Regions from separate parts of the Homo sapiens genome. Here all the other regions are linked to region 2. Evidence: promoter capture Hi-C in 16 types of primary human blood cells and fetal thymus (Javierre and others, 2016). All regions are on one chromosome and are shown on one strand. The core of a region is centred on a gene start or on the middle of the fragment in contact, and the rest is flanking DNA. Distances in the headings are between cores, read along the strand shown. Region 1 overlaps NKD1 (NKD inhibitor of Wnt signaling pathway 1). Region 2 holds the start of NKD1 (NKD inhibitor of Wnt signaling pathway 1). Region 3 has its middle 28 kb from the start of SNX20. Region 4 has its middle 54 kb from the start of LINC02178. Region 5 holds the start of LOC101927272 (a long non-coding RNA gene).

The links. The method cuts DNA at HindIII sites, captures the fragments that hold promoters and counts their contacts. A CHiCAGO score of 5 or more calls a contact.
Region 1: a contact is called between a fragment that was not itself captured here and the fragment with the promoter of NKD1 in region 2, in 7 of 17 cell types (non-activated CD4 T cells, naive CD4 T cells, naive CD8 T cells and 4 more). The highest score is 16.8, in non-activated CD4 T cells.
Region 3: a contact is called between a fragment that was not itself captured here and the fragment with the promoter of NKD1 in region 2, in 13 of 17 cell types (non-activated CD4 T cells, naive B cells, naive CD8 T cells and 10 more). The highest score is 15.9, in non-activated CD4 T cells.
Region 4: a fragment that was not itself captured here is called in contact with the fragment with the promoter of NKD1 in region 2 in 1 of 17 cell types (naive CD4 T cells); the score reaches 5.3 in naive CD4 T cells.
Region 5: a contact is called between a fragment that was not itself captured here and the fragment with the promoter of NKD1 in region 2, in 9 of 17 cell types (non-activated CD4 T cells, naive CD8 T cells, total B cells and 6 more). The highest score is 11.5, in non-activated CD4 T cells.

The regions. Positions count from the first base shown.
Region 1 is chr16:50,620,854-50,623,733 of GRCh38, reverse strand. NKD1 (NKD inhibitor of Wnt signaling pathway 1) reads right to left here. Exons shown (of 10, transcript NM_033119.5): 5 at 2,026-2,132. Among named protein-coding and RNA genes, the nearest start is that of NKD1-AS1, 8.6 kb to the right of the region's middle. RefSeq lists enhancers at 2,307-2,814, 2,865-2,880. The HindIII fragment of the contact is 9,441 bases long and covers 1-2,880 here.
Region 2 is chr16:50,547,005-50,549,704 of GRCh38, reverse strand. NKD1 (NKD inhibitor of Wnt signaling pathway 1) reads right to left here and starts at 1,309. Exons shown (of 10, transcript NM_033119.5): 1 at 1,127-1,309; 2 at 956-988; 3 at 150-283. The coding sequence starts at 1,151. RefSeq lists silencers at 987-1,176, 1,217-1,666. The HindIII fragment of the contact is 5,196 bases long and covers 1-1,716 here.
Region 3 is chr16:50,652,386-50,655,085 of GRCh38, reverse strand. No RefSeq gene overlaps it. Among named protein-coding and RNA genes, the nearest start is that of SNX20, 28 kb to the left of the region's middle. RefSeq lists a silencer at 532-712. The HindIII fragment of the contact is 254 bases long and covers 1,212-1,465 here.
Region 4 is chr16:50,447,944-50,450,796 of GRCh38, reverse strand. No RefSeq gene overlaps it. Among named protein-coding and RNA genes, the nearest start is that of LINC02178, 54 kb to the right of the region's middle. RefSeq lists a silencer at 1,925-2,219. The HindIII fragment of the contact is 8,671 bases long and covers 1-2,853 here.
Region 5 is chr16:50,668,730-50,671,429 of GRCh38, reverse strand. LOC101927272 (a long non-coding RNA gene) reads right to left here and starts at 2,575. Exons shown (of 3, transcript NR_110908.1): 1 at 2,270-2,575; 2 at 437-747; 3 at 1-282. It also overlaps a transcript of SNX20 not described here. The HindIII fragment of the contact is 1,314 bases long and covers 794-2,107 here.

The sequences.
Region 1 (2,880 bases), core at 296-2,795, 74 kb before region 2:
CACACACAGCACTTACCTGTTTCCAAGACAGCTTGGGTCTGAGCTTCAGAAACATGAGTTGAGTAACTGGCCACTTGTCCCACCTGTCACATGCGGGTCTCCTAGGCCTCTCCCACACCCCACCTGGGCTTCTCAGCTCAGTTGAGTCCTGCCCATGGACCACAGCTCAGTCCCAAGTCTGCCCCTCCAGAAGCAAGCGCACTTGGGCTTCCAGGGAGGCAGGATGCCTGGGCCTGGTCTTCCTTCTGCCACTGAGTTCAGCCCTGGGCTTTGCCAAGCTCCCCAAAAGACCCTACAAGGACCCAGGTGGGCTTAGGGCGGGGCTGGGCTCCAGGAAGAAGCTGGCAGCCCTAACTCCTACTAGATACTACCTATCCTCCTCAGGCGAGCCTTCAAGCCTCTTGGAGGCTGGAGTGCTCCTGTGCTGTGTGGGGAGAACAAGCTGTGTGGTGTGGCCTGTGCAGGATGGTGGGGCATGGCAGGGAGATGACACTGGAAAGGGGGTAAGATCGGTCACCAGAGACCCTGCACACAGGGCGTCTCCCCCATGTCCCACCATCCAGCACAGGCCACATCACGCCACTCACTCTCTCCACACAGCACGCCGGCACTTCAGCCTCCAGGCCTTTGCTCCTGCAGCTCCCTCTGCCTGATAGGCCCTTCTCACCCCAAAGGCTCCCCTGTGCACCCCTCTCCCAACTCCTACCCCTATGCTCAGAGCCTCACCCACCTCCCCAGTCTCTATCCACAGCCGCTGTTCCCTCCTCCAGGCACCGCACAGAGCCTGGAAATGCCAAGTGTCCGTTACCCCACACCCCTCGGCCTGACCCCACTCCAGGCTCCCAGATCTCATCTCATCACTGACTGTGCAGCCACTGGGTTTGGGGCGCTCAACTGTCCCCTGGTCACACTGTGCACTCCTTGACGGCAGGAACCACACCCAGTCTAAGCTGGGTACCCTGGCAATTAGCCGGTGCCAATCAGCATTGGTGAGAAAGAGGGGCACCCTCTTAAGCACTTTAGACCTTTAGGCGCACGAACTCATGCTGCTGACAACAGCCCAATGCGACAGACATCACCATTATCCCCACCTTACAGGCGAGGCACGTGAGGCCACTGAGACTTTAGGGAACTTGCCCCAAAGTCTCAGAGCTACTAAGTGTATAGCCAGGATTTGAACCCAGGCCTGCTGACTCTAGAGCTATGCCCTGGTGGTCTCAGGAAGGCAAACAGAGGGAAGGAGGGAGGGAGCAAGGAGGGCAGAGCAGTGGGGAAGCTCCATGCAGCAGGCCTGGGCCTGGCTCTCAGCACTGGCCACTGTGCTGGGGGCACAGGAGCGTGCTACACTATCAGGCGGTGGGGAACAGACTGTGCAGCCACTGGGTCTGGGGCACTCAACTGTCCCCTTCTCACCCCAAAGGCCCTTCTTTTCCCAAAGACTCCCTTGTACATCCCTCTCCCAACTCCTACCCCTACGCTCAGAGCCTCACCAACCTCTGCCCACAGCTGCTACTCCCTCCTCTAAGCACTGCACAGAGCCACACGGAGGCACATCCTTGGTGGTGCCCACATGGGGAAACTCAGGCCCAGAGAGCGTCAGGGTCCTGCCCGTACCTCCTGTTCATCCATCCCACCTGAGATCCCCCACAGGCACCCCCAGAACAGCCTCAAGAGTTGGAAGGGAAGGTTTCACCGAGGAAACTGAGGCCCAGAGAGGTGACAGCAACAGAAGGGCCAGAGTCCTGCCTCCCTCGTCTACTCTCATGCCCTCTCCCAAGCTGCTGGGCACAGCCCGCATGGAGGGGCTGGGGCTGGGCTGAGGGGGTGGGCAGCGGTGAGTCCCTGGGGTCTGCCCTGAGCCAGGACGGCCCCAGATGTGGCAGAAGGAACCTCCCACAGAGGGTGCTGTTCATGCAGGGGAGGGGCCTTCCTGTCTGGAAGAGCCTCAGCTTCCCTCCTCCCAAAGCCCCAAGCTGAGAAAACCCATCTCATCTCCTCAGGACCCAGCACCAAAAGGAAACTTACTTCAAACTTCAGCTGCTTCTTGGAGCCTGGGCAGGGTTCGCTCACTCTCTCCATCTTCTTCTCATCTCCGCTGCCCAGCCCGTCAGTCTTCTCAGGAGGCAGGGCCACTGTCGGGGAGGCAGGCGAGGGAGCATTAGGAGCAGGGTCCAGACGCCGGGCAGCCATGCTCACTGCACCTTTGTCCTCCATGCCTGGCCTGGACATTCTCGCCAGGGGGCTGGGCCCGCTCCTGCCCTGCCCATTTGCTGGGGTCAACATCACACTACTCTGGCACCTGGTACTGCCTGGGAAGACCTTCCCCCAACATGGTGCACCCACTTGCACCGTGGGGGGCCCCCTCAGGCCCCCACCAGCCTATGACTTCTGCCCTATGGAGGCACACAGCCACCCAGAGCAGTGTCAGGCCAGAGGGCAGATGGATGAGAGTGGAGGGGTGCTTCTGGAGCCCAGCGAGGGAGCTTAGGGACCATGGCCATTTTCTGCAGTCTCACTGCCTTCTGTGTTGACATTTTGGCCTCCTCAAAGGTGCCACCCACCTGAGCACAGCCTACGGCACCTTGGTGGATGGCCAGGAGGAGTGCCAGAAACAGAGTTCAACTGGGTTGGCAAAGAAGTGCACACATGCACCGTCCACATACATGTATGCACAAGCGCACATGGACACACATACACACGCACATGCAGACATATGTACACTCATGCATCACACCTGCTTGCACACATATGCACACTCACACATGCACACACACTCACACATACACAAAAGGCATCTTCAGGGAGCACGCTCATCCTGAACCTTGCATTTGGCCTCTGCTCACCCCAGGTCCTCCCCTCTCTGCCAAAGGTCACGGTCCT
Region 2 (2,700 bases), core at 60-2,559:
GCGTTGGTGGGGCAGGGGGCAGCTGAGAAGAGATTTTCAGACCCAGAAGCTGTGCAGGAAAGTGCTCAAAGTTGGGGTGCATGGGTTTGGGGACCCATCTCTGAGGCTGAAAGGAGGCCAGGAGGTGGGGCAGGGGTGGGGAATCATACCCGGGTGCTTCGGCCTATGGTGCCCGCCAACCGCAGCTGTCGGGGTCCCGAGACACCGCCCGGGCAGCGCTGTCTCCCGATCCACTCCTCGATGCCCTTCCGAGCCCAGGCAGCGCTCACGGCGAAGCTGTCACCTGGGACGGGGACGACATGAAGCCCCTGAGTCTGGCTCCAGGTGCCAAAAGTTACCCCCGCGGAGGGAAGAAGGAGGCGCGGTGGGAGGCGAAGGACCACGGCACGGGGGCCAGGAGGGGGTTCGCGGGCTGGGGCAGGAGCCAAGAGAGGGACGCGGGTAAGTAAAGGGGGGTTCAGCGAAGCCCTAGGAGCGAGGAGCCAGAAGGGGGCAAGAGGGGTGAGCAGTACCCCAGGAGGACGGGTTTAGGATCAGACCAGGGAGCACTGGCAGCCAGGACTGCGGAGGAGAGGGCTGGGGGTCAGGAGAGGGGCCGCAGTAGGTGCAGGAGCCAGGATATCGGAAGAAGGGCCGGGGGGCAGGAAGAGGGGGCAGGGTCTTGCGGGGAGGCGCTTGGGGGTCTGAAGAGAGGGTGCCGTGAGAGCCGAGGGCAGGGACGCGGGAGGGGGAGGGGTTGAGGGTCAGCGGTGGGAGCGCAGGACCGCGGGGAGCGGGTAGGAGGGACAGAGGAGGGGGCGCGAAGGCTGCTCAGGGAGCGGGCTTGGGGGGCCGGTGGCCGGAACTGGGGCTTCGGGGTGGCCCTGGTCATAAGACCTGGCGGGCTGGGCCGTTCTGCCGCGGCCGCGGTGTCCCCCGCGTCCATCCCCGAGGTCTGCGCCCCGCGCGCCCCTACCTTCCGGGCTCTCCCTGCGCTTGCACACGGCGGCTGCAGGCACATCGCGAGGCGGCGGCGGCGGCGGCAGCCGCGGCGGCGGGAGAAGGAAAGAAAGGAAGGGAGAGAGTTAGCGACCGCGGCGGCGACGGCGGCGGGGCCCGGGGCGAGCGCGCGGGCGGGGGCACTGACCCGGCTTGGAGTGAAGTTTCCCCATGCTGGGGCTGCGGCGGCCGGGAGCGTCCCTAAGCCATGCGCCCGGCCCGCGGGCCTGGCGCCTCCCTTGGCTCTCCTCCTCCCGAAGCAGCCCCCGAGCCGAGCGGAGCCCGAGGCGGCGCCGGGACGCGCTCCTGCCGCCGTCGCCGCGGCCCGACTGACGCCCGGGAGCGCCGAGCCCCCAGCCCGCCGCCGCGGCCCGCGCCTCCCCGCGCGCCCATTGGCCGGTGCGGCGCATCAAAGGCAAGGCTGGTTGCGGCGGGGGCGGGGCCGGAGGCGGGGCAGGGCGGGGACGAGGGCGGGGCGCTGACGGGAGGGGCGGGACACAGTCCGCGCTCCCTGCCGCGGTCTGGGGCCGGGGGCCGAGCTCCAGGGCTGGCGACCCGGCGGGGCGGCTTGTCCAGGAGGCGTATTGGGACAGAACAGCCCGGCCATCGCTAACTGTACTGTCACTTCCCTCCGCTCCACGTTCTCTCTAAACGGGCAGGGCGGGACTCGGCGGCTCCAATTTACAGGTGGGGAAACTGAGGTCGGGAGCGGAGACCTTAGCTGCTCAGGTGCAAGCTTCGGCAGCGCTGCCTTTTCCCAGTCTTCCCACGACCTACCTTCTGCAGAAAGTGTTCATTACCCGCCCCGTGACCCGCCCCCCACCACCGCACTCCTCTAGTTTCTTATTTGGGGAGTCCAGGAGGAGCCCCCAGCGCACCCCGGGCCAGTGTGAGCCCAGCCCTCTCCAGGCAGCGACAAATGTCCAAAGCGCCCCGTTATCAGCCAGTCTCTGGGATCTCCTCGTCCGGGGGCCCGTGGGTGCCCGCCCGGGTCGGGGCGCGCTGCCAAACTGCGCGGCCCGGAAGGGGGTAACCGCTGAGTCTTTGATCTTCCTTGGTTTCCGCTCCCCGCTGCAGTTCGCCAGACCCAAGGGTTTGTTTGTTTTGTCTGGGGAGGTCTCTGCGGGGAGGTCGCGCGGGGGGAGGGGGATGGTGGCGGTCGACATCAAGGGATTCCACCCCACCTTTGTGGCTCTCAGAACGCCTGCCCCCTTCTGGGGACACTGTGGGTCCGTGTTACGCTCGTCCTGGCACCAGGCAGCTCTGGCGTGGGAAAAGAAAACCCGCAGCTCAGAGTGAGACCAGCCCCGACCTTTGGAGTGAATTACCTGTGCTCAGTTTTGTGATCTGTATAATGGAGGCTCCATTCTGCCCTTTTTGCCGACTCTCTAGAGCAGCACTGCCCAATAGAAATATAATGTGGGCCACATTTGTAATTTTAAATTTTCTTGTCGCCACATCTTTTAGAAGTAAAAAGAAATAGATGAAATATTAATAATATATTTCGCTTAACTCAATACAGTCAGCCCTCCTTATTCACAGGTTCCACATCTGTGGCATCAACCATCTGTGGACTGAAAATATGCAAAAAGAATAATACAGCAAAAATAAAGAATAAAAAACTTTTTAATATAGTATAACAACTATTTACATAACATTTACATTGTATTAGGAATTACAAGGAATCTAGAGATGATTTAAAGTATTCAGAAGGATGTGTGT
Region 3 (2,700 bases), core at 89-2,588, 110 kb before region 2:
GGCCCAGAATATACTGTTCACAAGTGTCTAGGGGACCCTTCACAGCTACAGAGGCTGGGCTTGGATAAGGACCCCCGCACTTCTCCCCACAGGCCTGTATCAAGCAAGGTGGCAAAGCAAGGAAGGGCCACCACCTCCAAGTCCCTCCAGGCCCATTCTCCTGGGCCTCCTCCTGAGGACCCTCCTCCACCAAGGAGACCCCATACGACAGCCTACCTTGTCTGGCACACAGAGAGGAGGGGATGGCCCAGGGGCTGTGGGTGCCAGGCAGGGGTTGACCAGATGACCCTGAGCCTGTCAAACTAGGATCACACCAGCCAGATCCCTGAATCCAGCCCTCCCTCCCTCTCTAACTCCAGTTCAGAAACTCTGCCTTGTAGTCAGAATGGGCTGGGTTCTGTGGCAGGAATGTAAGTCTGCATACAGACAATAACCTTAACTCTCCATGGCTTCACATATCACAGGGTACTTCTCATGCTCACAAAGTCCAGGGCAATGCAGGCGACTCTCCAGGATAATTTCTTTTCTTTTCTTTTTGAGACAGGGTCTCACTCTGTTGCCAGCCTGAGAGCAGTGGCACAATCACGGCTCACTGCAGCCTCGACCTCCTGGACTCAAGTGATCCTCCCGTCTCAGCCTCCTGAATAGTTGGGACTGACACCCAGCTGATTTCTGTAACCAAGACGCTTTTCTTCCATGCCACAGCTCAGCAAACCAGGCTCCTCCTCTCTTGCAGCTGTGCCATGTCAACATGAGGCTTTAGGGGCAGAGAGAACTAAAGAGACACGAACTGGCTCTTAAATACTTTCATCCAGGCACTTCCACTCCCAGCCATAGGCCAGAATGAGCCTTATGATCCCATGCAGGCAGGAGGAGCTAGAGCGCAGGGGGAGTGTGTGCAGAGCCAGCGATCAATAGAAATCTGTCACCTGCCTGCTGGATGCCACCAGCTGCGGTCCACTCTGCTACCTCCCATGGGATCACTACCTCTCAAAACACCTGTTGGGGACTGACCTGACATAGACCTGGCACTGTGCTCAGCACTGGCTCTCCCATAATGACCAGGACAGACATGGTCCCATCCCATTCCTTAAGGGGCTCATATCGGAGAAGGGAGGGGATTGAACAGTCCCTCCTCAAAGTTCCTGGCCCCCATTTCTGTGTCCCTTTTTTGTGAGCATCACCATCCTTCCTGACTCACAGACCAAGCTTAGTCAGCTCTCAACCCTGGAATGAGCCTCAGTTTTCTCATCTGTACAATGGGGATAAAAAGAGACTTAACAGAGGTCATCTGATGATCATGAGAAAGCAAGTCTCCAATTGGTGCAGCCTAAACAGCCACCAGGCAGTGGGACCAGGATTCAAGCTCCATCATCTGATTCCATCGCTCGAGTCTCTTCTGTGGCCCTTCCTCTTCCTCCTTAGCTGGGTGGACCCTGCAGAGTTTGCCTCAAACATTGAAGCTTTTGCTAAGAAGGAGGGGATCTGAGAGTCCAACTTTCCAGCCACAGCCAAGGTGAGCCGGGCCTGGCCTTGAGCCAACTTGGTCCCCTGAAGACTGCCTGAACTAGCCCAGCCTGATCCCCAAGGCATCCCTGGAACTGGCCCTGGCTCAGGTCATTCCAGGAGGGCCACAGCAGCTGTCCTTCAACCCAGGACCCAGACAGGGCCAGCTCCAAGCCCCTCACTCCCACCACCCTTTCTCCACATGTAGATGTGGTCAAAAACCTTACCATGGGACTGGTAAGGCCACCACGGCCACCATTAGAAACCTGATCCCGAGTTGCTGATTAAAACCAGGAGGGGTTTTTAATCAGCTGAGGCCATATGCTATTTAACCAAAGATGAAAGCACGAGTGATAAGCATCGTCTCAGAAAGGATGTCATTAAAGGAAGAGCAGAACAGCAAGAGGCAGCTTTTATCATTAGAGAAGCCCCTTGCAAAGCTCTCGTGAGGGGCTTCGGGGAACATCTGGGCTCGGTCTATTATGCAGTACTTACAACGTCATTGTGTTTGACAACGGCTCCTGAGCCCACGCCACACTAAACTTCTAAATATACAATTAATGTCTATTAATTATAGTTTTCAAATCAGCAAAATGAGCCTTCATTAACTTAATCGCCTCTTCTATTTTATCAGGAAATTGTACTCTTGGTGTTCATAATCCCCGCATCTGAAACCCCCCTTTGACAGGCGGCATGTGATGCTTGGCTGACTGTTTAAGGGAAGGCCTGCCTGTCCTCCCCGCATCTAGGCACCCCGCCTAATCCACCCTCGGCCATGAGACGTGAAGCCACTGAGGGCCTCCGAAGTATTCCAAAGGGTTTGTGAGCAGGCATGTGGTCCGGGAGATGGTGTTGGAAGTGAGGCGGCAGCTGCCATCATGGTACCTGGTCAAGCTGGAGCCCAGCTCAGATGGAACTGAATCTGAACCAGTATGTGTTGGGGGGATGATGTGGACAGGAAACTGGCCACTGCCTCTTGCATCTCTTTGGACCCTAGGCAGCCCTCCTTCTCACTGTCAGCAGCCTTGGGGATTATCTCGCTGCTCACAACAGCCGGTGTCTTATGATGTAATTAACCCCATTGCAGACACGGGCAAACTGAGACTCACAGAGGGGAAACGGTTTCCTCAGGACTGCAGAGCAAATTGTTGGCCATGCTGAGCCTTCAACTCAGCTCATCTAATGCCCAAGATA
Region 4 (2,853 bases), core at 332-2,831, 99 kb after region 2:
CATGGAAAGGTATTGAGTGAAGAACTTCTATGGGGCAAGGGCTCAGGGGCTCTTCCAGAGGAGGTGACTCATACTGATTCTAACATGTCCACATCTGTAGCATAATCTTCTTCCCGAAACTGCGAACCATCACCAGGGTCCACCATGCAACGGAATCACTTGTGCAAGTGGTGTTTGACGGAGATGTGGGGAAAGAGTGTGGGTCCACTTCGGAGCCAGTACAGAGTGGAGAAAAGAAGCAGTCATGGAGGAGAGATGATGGCTGGAGGGGAGCAGCAGGCAGAGCTAAAAGTGACTGTGAAGGCGTGAACACAGACATCGGCAGAAATCTCAGGTTGGCTTGGTCACTAGTCACCTGTACCCCAAGATGTGAACACAGAGTTTATGTCTATTTCATGAACCTCTTAAAAATGGGGTGATCTCTACTGACATGTGGGTTATACGGAGATGAATAAACCTATCTCAGCTCAAAGGAACTCAAAGTTGAAAAACAGAGAGGCAGGCGCCAGGCCAAGGGGGGCTCATCCAGGTGAGGCAAATCGGCCAAGGACTGAGAGCTGGTAGGAAGTAGAATGAGGATAGAAGCAGCCTCCAGACTCCAAAGCAGTGCTCCTGTCCTCACCCCCTCTCTGCCACCCCCCAGCGGAAGGCAAGCAGGCCATGTTGCTTCAGCCTCTCTCTTCTCCCCTGGGTCCAGCTTTTACCCTTGAAAGCCTCTTGCATCTAAAGCATGAATTCCATGTTAAATAGGTCAGGCCACCTGCCTTCCAGGCCCAGCTCTCCAACCTGTCAGGCTCGGGCTGAACCATGAGACTGTTTCTCTTCAAAGTGGCCCGGGCCTCTTCTGACCTGCTGAGCTCTCCCCTGTAGCCCTCGTCAGTCTGTAGCTTGAGTGACAGCCAGAGCTGTTTGCAAGAGCACGTGGCAATGTCTCCCTGAGACCACCCACCATATGGATCTCAATCCCTTTTCCCGGGATCTCTCTCCCATCATTGGCATGAGAAACATGGTAGGGTCCTCCCAATTCGTGTCTGAGATCTGTGAGGACAGACAGCAGCCACAGATCCACTGCAGAATGGGCGTGTGGGAAATGCTGTGTGGTATAAGCTGTCCTCGTAGTTATAGAGAACAAAAGTCATCACCAATGTCCTTTATTAAGGGTTTATTCTGTACCAGGCTGTAGGTGTCCCCATTTGCTTCTTATTGTGAGAATTAAATTAGTGATGACAGGTACCTTCATTATCCCCATTTTATTAATGAAGAAACAGAGGTTCAGAGAGGCTAACTGGTTGCCTAATGTCACACAGCTGGTGAAAGCTGGGATTGACACCCCCATTGTCCGGCTGAGGAGTCTCTCAGCTCTTTCAGCGAGCATTGTGTTGTAAACACCTGGGGTCTTTCTCCACAGGAACACCCTAAGTATGGTTTGGGCTCAAGTGGCTGAAGTCTTGTCCCCCACTAGAATGGAAATGTCTTAGGGACAGGGTCTATCACCTCTTCATGGTGAATATCACGCAATGGGGCTTGAGGCGGAGGGATCTATTTGTGCCTGGGACAAAAGGGGGCGCAAGGAGGAGCAGGTCCCCACGGTTCGGCGGGGTCACCGGCTGGGCTGGCTGCCTGGCTTTCCCAAGCCTGAGGTGAGCATAAAAAGGCCAGTACAAGAAAGAGGAGGGAAAAAAAGGAAGAGCAGGAGAAGGAAGAGCCAGGCTGATCGGTGGGGAGTGCCTGCCCCAGATGGCCTGTGCGTACCAGGACTGTGGGGGCTTCCTTCACACACCGTCTGAATTATTCAGACAGGGAGGCCACAGGGGCCCGAGAGGTCTATGATGGTTAGGGGTTTCATGGCCACTTAGGTGGACCAAAAAAGAAAAGAATTGCGTTCCGCCTGCTTATCTCCTAACCTTATAAACTCAGGATTAGCAGATCAAGGGAGGATTTGGCACAGCTGAGGGACGACAGTGGCTTCAGAGAACAGTTTGGGCTCCATCCTTCATAATCAAATGAGCTTAGGTCATTGATAAGTAAATGGCGTTTTGAATCCCTCTAATTGGGCGTGTGGGTCACGCCTGAGCCCAGGCAGCCCAGCCGTCCTGGCAGAGTTAATGAGCCAGAGAGGGGCCTGGGTGTGGATCCCAACAGTGGCCACAAGAAGGAGTGCCAGGGTGTATCCTGGCTTGGGCAGGGGCCCCAGAAGTTAAGAGTAATCGCTTTGGAGCCAGAAGTGATGGATTCAAGCTCCCAGCACTGCCACCAGCTAGCTAGGAAACCTGGCGGGGGCGAGGGGGTGTCCCATAACTGCTGGCACCTCAATTTTCTCAGCCGTAAGATGGGGCCATGGACGTGTTAATAACTACCCTTTATTGAGAACTCCACACTCCATGTGCGGTGCTGTCAGAGGGAGGCATCACTCAACCCAGAGCCTATGCTCCTAAGGACCAGTGGAGACCAGCCTTGGAGGGCATCTGCAGCCTGAAAGGGACAGCGGAGTCCAGAGCAGGAGGCAGGGTGACAGCCGCTTCTCCCCTCCCCGCTAAGTGACCATGCAGACAGCACTGTGCCTTCACTTCCTCACCGGTAAGCGAGTTCTCCCGGGTGCAAGGGCACCACTGCAGGGAAAGCCCCGAGTGATGCCATTAATCAGTGATTGCTGTTACCACCCTTAGTGCTGGATCCTCCTTAGTGATGTGAATTTCCTGTGCCAGTCACCTGCCCGTTTGATATCGGGTCTTATCTCTGCCCTTACGCTCTGCTCTGTATCCAGGAGTGACGTTCCCTGGACTTCTTGGCCACCTGGTTTCTGGGTTGGTTTGGCCAATGGGCAGCACTGTGGAGAGCGAGGGGAGAGAAAAG
Region 5 (2,700 bases), core at 201-2,700, 120 kb before region 2:
ATTAAGGAAATTTGCACAAACTAAACTTGGCACTGGGTGGAGTACAGGGAACTTCCTCTGAGAATTTGAACTGCAAGCGGGCACTCGCCCATGTTTTAGGGCTGAATACACACAGCATGGTCCAAAATCCCTCAAGCAGAGAAATCATGTTAAAGTGGTCTCAGGTGGAGGTGTTCCAGGTGCCTCAAGACCTGGAGATCTTTAGGTCTTCCCTGGGGCTGAAGGATGTCAGCATCAAGCCAGGCCTATAAGAAGTGTAGGATCCTGTTGAGTTCAGAGGTGCTGAAATGTGAAAAAAAAAAGTCATCTCAAAATCACAGATAGATGATATGTGTGGGGTGTTGGGGGGGTGGGGCGGGGGGTGCACACAGAGAGAAAATACTTATATGGGAGTAAAGGAGCCTATAGAATCACATGGGGGGTTCCCCATAAGTACCTCTGAAGAGGGGTTGGCTTCCCACACAGTGCACAGGAAATGGATTTATTCAGGCTTCCCAAAAAGGGACTGGCCACATGGGGCAGCTTCAGGACCATCACTTTGCCTTTTCCCGATGACACTCAATGCTGCCCCTCCTCGTGCTTCTGGCAGCCTTGGCCTGAGCATCCACGGGAGTTTCTTCTGGCCATGGACACTGCATCTTCATCCACTACAAGTTGTCTGATGGACTGGGATGGCCTGCCACAGCCAGCTCCTCCTGGCATCTCCCATATGCTGCAGCAGTTAGAGCCCACTCGTTCCTTGGGTTCCTGGAACAAGTCCTTGAATTCCTTAGGCCCCCACCTCCAGCAAGCTTTCCGCAGGGCCCACTGCAGCCCCACCGGGGTACCCCACCTCCCTGTTTGCCTGGGCCCTCTCCCACGCCACCTGTATTAGTCCTTGTTTCTAGGGGACTTTAGAGTGGTGGCAGCTGGGACTGAACATTCTTCTCCTGACCCCTCAAAAGCTGGGTCCACAGGAGAGGTGAGGGGGTACCTGACCTCCATACCCAGGATGGAGCCTTGTTAGGAACACAGAATTTCAGGCCCCACCCTAGACCTGCTTAATCGGAGTCTGCACTTTAACAAGAGCATCCCCCACTGCCGCAGGTGACTCTTACCTGCATACCTCAAAGGTTGAGAAGCCCAGTGTTGAACTGACTTGAAGGCACCTCAATGAAAATCATCCATGGAACTGGGCCATCTGTGGTCCTGGGTTCATCCCCATCCTTCTCTTCTCTCCACCCGGGCCCTCTACCATACAGGTGCCTCATCCCAGGGGACTGCAGATGGGACTACCATGCCAGCCTCACAACCATACCTGCAAAACCACTCTGGGCATTTGGACTGGAGCTTAAAGGGGTTCATTCCAATGAAGCCCTCCCTGCTGCAGCAGCCACTCCCCCCCACTGGCTGTGATGGAGTCCTGGGGTCTCCACTTTGAGCTGGGATTAGGCATCCTCATGAGACCCTGTCCCCTGGGATGCCGGCAGTTCCCTGCCAAGCCCACAATTGAAAACAAGCTCTGCAAGCAGCTCCCTGTGCGGTAAAAGTCAGGGCTCCCCAGGCCTACTGTGTGACCAGGCACTGCCGGGCCATTGATAGCACCGTCACTCCAGCTCTGCTTGGGACATGTTCCTATCCCATTTTTCAGTTGAGGAAAATGTGATCATTTGTAACATTGTAACCTGAGGGGGTTAAGTGACTTGCCCAGGGTTACACAGCTAATAACTGGACCAGGAAATTAAGACCAGGCTTTAATTTGACCCAAGCCCTACTTTCCTTGCTGAACTCCACATTAAAGGATGTGGAGGAGAGGGGAAGGGATATGTTCCTGGTCCCCTCACCGAAATGGGTCCTTGATATGGTTTGGATGCATGGTGGTCACCTCCAAATCTCATGCTGAATGTGACTCCCAGTGTTGAAGGTGTGGCCTGGTGGGAGATGTTTGGCTCATGGGGGCAGGTCCCTCATGGATGGCTTGGTGCCCTCCCCGTGGTAATGAATGAGTTCTCACTCTGTTAGTTTACATGAGAGCTGGTTGTTTAGAAGAGCCTGACATGGCTCTTGCTCCCTCTCTTGCCATGTAAGTCACGAACTCCCCCTTCCCCTTCCACCATAAGTGGAAGCTTCCTGAAGCTTCACAAGAAGCAATGCTGGTGCCATGCTTCTGTACAACCTGCACAACTGTGAGCCAAATAACCCTCTTTTCTTTATAAGCTACCCAACCTCAGGTATTCCTTTATAGCAATGCAAAATGGACTGACACGCCTTTAAAGATCATTTCACTCACCTCTGTTTACAGATGGGGAAATCAAGGCCTGGAGAGATGACTTATCCAGGGTCACGTGGCGAGACAGGGACAGCACCAGAACCAGACCCGAGATGTCCACGTCAAAGTGACATGCTCTGAGAGGCAGCACACACAGAATAACCCTGCATCCAAATTCCAGGAAGCTCTTAGGGGTCATCCAGCTGGGCCTAGGGGTGCAGGGTCAGTGCTGAGGCCTGGGCAGGGCCGCTAGCCTCCCTGAGCTTTCTGGCTTCAGGCTGGGAGGCACAGTTCAGGGTGGACTGTGACCCCTTGGCCTAGAATGCCCTTAGCTCTGCTCTCTAGTGGCTGTCCCCATAGCTGGAACTCTGTTTTGGAGTGGCAAAACCAGTTCCACCTGCTGGTAGGGGTAGGTTGGCTCCCAACACATCCCCAGCAGGCCTCTCTTGGGC